2 separate regions of the Homo sapiens genome follow, and region 1 is linked to region 2. The links are contacts of gene promoters, found by promoter capture Hi-C in blood cells and fetal thymus (Javierre and others, 2016). All regions are on one chromosome and are shown on one strand. Each heading gives the region's core, a stretch centred on a gene start or on the middle of the fragment in contact. The rest is flanking DNA. Distances are from core to core; before and after follow the strand shown.

What was found. Contacts are between HindIII fragments. The CHiCAGO score rates a contact against its expected background, and 5 or more counts as called.
Region 1: a contact is called between a fragment that was not itself captured here and the fragment with the promoter of KCTD10 in region 2, in 1 of 17 cell types (neutrophils). The highest score is 6.6, in neutrophils.

Annotation. Positions count from the first base shown.
Region 1 is chr12:110,036,179-110,039,119 of GRCh38, reverse strand. It overlaps ANKRD13A (ankyrin repeat domain 13A), which reads right to left. Exons shown (of 15, transcript NM_033121.2): 14 at 2,792-2,859; 15 at 1-1,761. The coding sequence ends at 1,566. Among named protein-coding and RNA genes, the nearest start is that of C12orf76, 11 kb to the left of the region's middle. The HindIII fragment of the contact is 5,067 bases long and covers 1-2,941 here.
Region 2 is chr12:109,475,987-109,479,150 of GRCh38, reverse strand. KCTD10 (potassium channel tetramerization domain containing 10) reads left to right here and starts at 1,851. Exons shown (of 7, transcript NM_031954.5): 1 at 1,851-1,891. The coding sequence starts at 1,889. UBE3B (ubiquitin protein ligase E3B) reads right to left here and starts at 1,517. Exons shown (of 28, transcript NM_130466.4): 1 at 1,042-1,517. RefSeq lists enhancers at 1,605-1,694, 2,203-2,938. The HindIII fragment of the contact is 6,971 bases long and covers 1-3,164 here.

The sequences.
Region 1 (2,941 bases), core at 371-2,870, 560 kb before region 2:
TGGCCTCATGTGCAGAAGGAATTTTGGTCAGACAATGACAAAAAAAAAAAACAAAACAGATTGTGAAATGGAATTAAAAGCACAATTCTTTGTATCTGGGAACGTTTCACTGGCAACACTAACTGTATGATACAGACGTTACCTGGAACAGTAGTTATGTTTCTCTTCCTATCCCCAAAGAAGCACAATAGAAGAAATAGACGCAAAATGGAGGAGGGTGTTGTTTACCAGGTTATTTCAGTGCAGCCTGTGGGAATGAATACACGGGCCACAGTGAGCAGTGCCCTTGGCTGTATTCCCCAGGGTTCTGTATGTTGTGCGATGGTTATATACAAGAGGGTTTGACAAAAGAGAGTTAACTACTAAAGGTATCCAAAAAAGGCCTGAGAAAATCTGGTTAAAATGTATAACCTTGTATTGCTACTGATGGGAGTTGTTTTTATATCTTTTACAAATAATAAAAAGATTGTTAAAAAATAGATTTATCCAGAAAGATGTTGATTTGAACTCTAAAAAGCAACGTGGAATCATTATTTTCCCTTTTGAATGAAGAGCCATGGAGCTCCGTGGTTTTCAGCTCCCTTTCTGGTTGCAAATCAATCCTTCCTCTGGAGTGAGTCTAGGGCATGCGGGCTCTTCCTAGGTGTCTACGTGGAAATCCTTCACTCATGCAGGTGTAGAACACACCTGGTTTGGTTCTGTGTGTTCCAATATTTTGGCCAGCTTGCCCACTTCAAGAACAAGCCTCAGGTTCCCCTAGCTGCTCCTTCAGGGACAGGATTAGCTGCCTTTGATTTAGCCTGGAGAATCCTGCTCTCAAAAGAATTGCCTTTACAAATTCAAATCAGATCCTTCGATGCGTGCAGTGAGGTGATGTGAAACTATTAGTAATGTTTAAGGCTAAGGCAACATCCATGGCCATTTGTGTATCTTAATTTGATGCAAATAGTTAACAATAATCTAAAATAGATTCTATATGTATCTCCTCTAACTTTAGCTGGGTGTGGAAGGAATGGAATCAGATAGATGGAGGAAGAATAATGACAATGTCCTAGAAACCCTGTAAAAAGGTAAAAATAAGGAGATCAGCACAGATTACCCATTTCTTTGGTGAACAGTAAAGAAGTGTCTCCAATTCTCATAGATCACACTTTACAAAGGCGGCTGCTGCTCTTATATATAAAAGCACCCTGACTCTGCAATAACTTGTCTTGTTATCACTCCTTGATAAAAATTTATCTACAAACCTGCGGGGATTGGGGTTTTGTCTAAAGCTGGTAGTAAAAATGTGACCTGCAAGCCAATACAGCTAATGGAAAGTGATGATGCTCTCCTCCCCTTAGCCTGGAGATGGGGCCTGCAATCCCTGGTCCCTTCTCCACCCCAGGGAGCAGCCTGGATGGGCCCAGGAGTCCCTGGTTCTGCACCTCTGCATAAAGAAGGGGCAGTTGTTGCCTGCTGCATGCACGCAAGGTGCAGGCCCTTAGCCCTAGGGCCCTGGTTGACACAGCATCTGTGACAGCCCACAGCCTCTGCTTTGTGCAGAGGCTCACAGGCTGAAAGGTCTATTTGTCAGTGAGTGACAGCTGTAAGACTTGCTGGAGCTCAGCCTCTTCCTCCTGGAGCCGGAGCTCCCATTCCTCCAGCTCTTTGGCAGAGAGCTCCATGGCTAGCTGCAAGTCATTATCAAAACGGCTTGTCTCGCTCAGGGCGCTGGGGCACAGGCCTTCTGTGCTGGTGAGGAGGCTCTCCTGGATGGCCCTGGGTTGGAAAACAGATAAAAAGGGAGAGTCACTACTATCATCATCATGGTGGCAGCAGTAACTACATTTCTTAACCGCTTACCAAGGGCACACTGTGCCAGGCATTTAATATGCATGATGCCAATTAATCCCACATAACTGGCGGTGTAGGTGTTGTATACGGGTGAGAAACCCCACAATCTTGCCCAAGACCACCCAACCAGTAAGTGATAGGGCTGGGAATTGAACTTGGATCTGTTTTAAAGCAAAACTCAGGTTCTTCATCAACAGGCTCTCATAGACACCTTAAGTATAAGTCTTCGTAAAATGAATCCTCGCGGTTTTTCCCGTAATCTCTGGAGCTGTTCCTCCAAACTTCCTTATCTTTACAATTATATAAACTTCCCACTGAGGACATCTAGGCCCTGTGATCATACATCATTCATAGAAGATCAAACCAATCAGAAAAAACTGACTCAGTACGTTTCCCCCAATGGCACTGACCTGTGAACCAGTCAGCAATTCTATCACCCATTCCTGGAAACTTGCTATCAAGAGTCTAGAGTTATTATAAGTAACTGCCACAAGAGGAAGCAAGAGAGCCAACACTTTAGTCTTTTTTTTTTTTGAGACGGAGTCTCGCTCTATCGCCCAGGCTGGAGTGCAGTGGCGCGATCTCGGCTCACTGCAAGCTCCGCCTCCTGGGTTTGCCATTCTCCTGCCTCAGCCTCCCGAGTAGCTGAGACTACAGGTGCCTGGCACCATGCCCGGCTAATTTTTTGTATTTTTTTTAGGAGAGACAGGGTTTCACCGTGTTAGCCAGGATGGTCTCAATCTTCTGACCTCGTGATCCGCCTGCCTCGGCCTCCCAAAATGCTGGGATTATAGGCGTGAGCCACCGCTCCTGGCCTACTTTTTCTAGTCTTTCCTGCCAGTTTGTGGCACCGTACATCTGCCTGAGGACCAAATGCACAGTGCCACGCGTCTGCTCGCCTGTGTCCAGGCCTGTGTTCACCCTGGTTTATTCCAGAGTCACGTCAGTCAATCACCTCTCATACTGGGCGTCATAGGTGTTTGTCTGGCTGATCCCTCCATTCGAAGCTGGTCCTGAAAGTTCCTGGCAAAGACAAATGTGATAGACATGAATACGTCTTAGGAGAAATTGGTGCCATTCTGGTAAGGAAACGATGGCAGCAAGA
Region 2 (3,164 bases), core at 602-3,101:
CCCATTATGTGTCAAGTCCTTTATAAGTGATCTCATCTAATAAGGAGAGGAGTCCTATGAGAAGATCATTCATGATCTCATCTACTCCAGTCTAGACCATTAGTATGTGGCAGAGTCAAGGCTGTAATAACTAAGAGGCAGGATTCAGACTCTTGTCTTACCTCTATATTTCCAAAGCTGAAGCATCATAAATACCAACTGCTGACTAAGCCAAGAGGATTGTCCCTGTGCAGTAGGAAAAGCTGGGCCACCAGGTTTAATGACCACCACCACTTGTTCTGGGCAGACGGTGTATCAGACACTGCACAGATTATTTAACCAACTTGTCTTTTCAACAGCTCTATCAGTTCTCGATAATCTTTGTTTTTTTGAGACGGAGTCTCACTTTGTTGCCCAGGCTGGAGTGCAGCGGCGCGAACTCTGCTCACTGCAACCTCCGCCTCCCAGGTTCAAGTGATTCTCCTGCTTCAGCCTCCCAAGTCGCTGGGATTAAAGGCGCCCGCCACCACGCCCGGCTAATTTTTGTATTTTTAGTAGAGATGCGGTTTCACCATGTTGGCCACGCTGGTCTTGAACTTCTGACCTCAGGTGATCCGCCCGCCTCGGCCTCCCAAAGTGCTAGGATTACAGGCGTGAGCCACCGTGGCCAGCCTCAATAATCTAATTTTTATTTAAAGAATAGGAAACACGACTTAAAGAGACTATTCATATTAACAGCTACTATTTATTGAAAGCTACAGCCTATCTAAGGTGGATGCTTTTGAATCTGAATCCATGTATATCCAAAACAGTTATTTATCACTAAGTAAAACAAACAAGATCCAGGGCTCCCCCGTTCACAGAATGGCCAAGCAAAGAGAAGTTGAGAGTGCAAGATTGCCTGTGGGGGCTAAGCTGGAGTTAAATTACGATCAAGTTTTTCTTTATTCAGAACTAGGTGTCAGGCACGGTACTAAAACGTATTCACACCCTCTGTGAAACCTGCTAATTACTCCATTTACACAGAAGGAAACTGAGGCTCAGAGAGGTGAGGGAACTCACCCAAGGTCACACAGCGAGCGAACAGTATTCGAACTCCAGTTTAGGTGAGTCCTGGGGCCCAGAGTCTTTCCTCGGCATCAACAACCACAGGAACAAATCACCCAGCATTAGTCCGTTTATAAAGGCCTACCGTCCCCAAAGTGAAAAGAGGTGGAAAGGGCCGCGGAAAGAGCCCCTGGAGCACACACGCCAGATCCCAGCACTTGTTCCTCCGACCTGGCCAGGCAGGGACTGTGCCCTAGAGCCAACTCCCTCAAAGTCCCCAGCCCCACCACTCGGAGGACTGACGACCCAGTTCTCCCGCAGGCCGGACCGCAGGCCCTACCGGCCTACCCGCAGGCCGACCTTTATTCGCCGGAGGTCCCCGCACTTGGGGTCGGGGCCGCAGCTGCCACTGTCTCAGCCCAAAACACCCGAGTTCTGCCAGACCCGGGGCAGCAGCCGACGCACTACCGCCATCTTGCCCCGCGGTGTTCGCTTTCAGAACCCCGCCAGGAAGCAAGCATCCAGTTCCGGAAAATGACAGTTCCGCAGAGCTTCTTCGCCCGGGAAGGAAAACTTCCCCACACCTTGCCTCCCCTCTGGCAGCTGAAATAGCGGAGGTGGGATAAATGCCCTCCCCAGCCGAGAAAAGCTGGAACCCACTCCGGCCGGGGAGGCTGGAAAGAAAACTGGCCCCTAGGCGCACAACGGACGGCTTAAGACGTTGCCCTCTGCGGGGCGGAAGTGGGGTGCGGACAGCGGAAGTTATCGCTCCGGCCCCGCCTCCGCCCCCGGCTGGCGTGAGCTGGGTGTTTCCTGCCTCTCTCAGTCCGGGTTTGGAGACTCCTGCGTCCTCCGACTTTTCATGGTAGGGAGGGCGGTGCCCATGGACTAGGGGTTGAGGGCGGCCGAGGGAGCTGGGCAGCAGCAGAGTATAAGAAGGGACCGAGAGGAGGGGGTGTGATGAGGGGCAGTCACGATAGTGGAGAGGCATTTGGGGGATTGGTTAGGGGAAAGGCCCGGGGTGGGGGAAGGGCTTTGGGTGGAGAATTAGGGGCGGGGGTGGTGGTAGGGAGGCTCCCTGGCGGTTAGGAATCCGGGAAGCACATTTGGGCTTGCGGAGTAGATACGTGTGTGCGTGAGGAAGGGGTGTCTCCAAGTGAGTCCTGAGTGCTGGTTGGAGATGGGAGTTGGTGATTGCGAGGAGAACAAAGAGATATCAATTGAAAACGGACATTTGGGGGTGGAAAATGAGGATTTGGAGGATTATGAAGGAGAATGAATGGGCAGGTTATGAGAAGGTGAGGTAGGATTCCTTGGGGCGGAGCGTTTGGCGTTTTGGAGGTTGTGGCTGGAGTCGCTGAGTTTCCAGGAAGTGGGGAAGGGGCTCCCAGGTGCGTCTGAACACACGGCCCAGTGAGGGAAAGAAATCGAGAGAGCCCAGCAGGCTGATGTGCGTTCAGTGCTTGGAATCCTGGGGAGAGATGCCAGGGGCCTGAGGTTAGGATACCTGCGCCACGGAGTTCAGTGCCTCAGCTGGCGCCTGGGTACCTATCTGTAACTTCCATTGAGGCCAGAGGTGACCACGCCTAAGGAGCGGAGGATGTTTCAAGATCTGTCTCTCAGCTGTGGGGTTTGTCTGCTTGGGATCCTCAAGGGTCTGTTCCCTGAGTAGCTCATTGTCCCTGGGTAGAGATGACCAAAGATTGGCCCAGATCTTCTTTCTACTTGCTTGCTTGTTTGTCACGTCCCTGGAAAGTGCAGTCTTAAGGGAAAATCAGTCCCAGTGACGCTGCTGAAGAAAAGTCAGTTATCCTGTAGCTGACGTTGACTAGTCCGCTCCATTTTGTGCAAAATAAGGACCAGCGGATGGGAAGAAGGCAGCATAAACCAGTGGTTCTCAAACTCTGGTCCCACCAGCAGCAACACCTGGTAACTTATTCAAAATGGCTGAAATTTCAAGCCCTGTCAGAGACTACTGAATCAGACATTCTTGGGGTGGAGCCCATCTATCGGTTTTAACAAGCCCTGCAAGGGATTAGACTAATGATTTCTTGATTTGGACTGTGTAATGAAAGGGGCAAAGGAGTTGGGAGTCAGAGGGCTCTTATAGGTGTGATTCCTAGTTTTCTCCCCAAAAA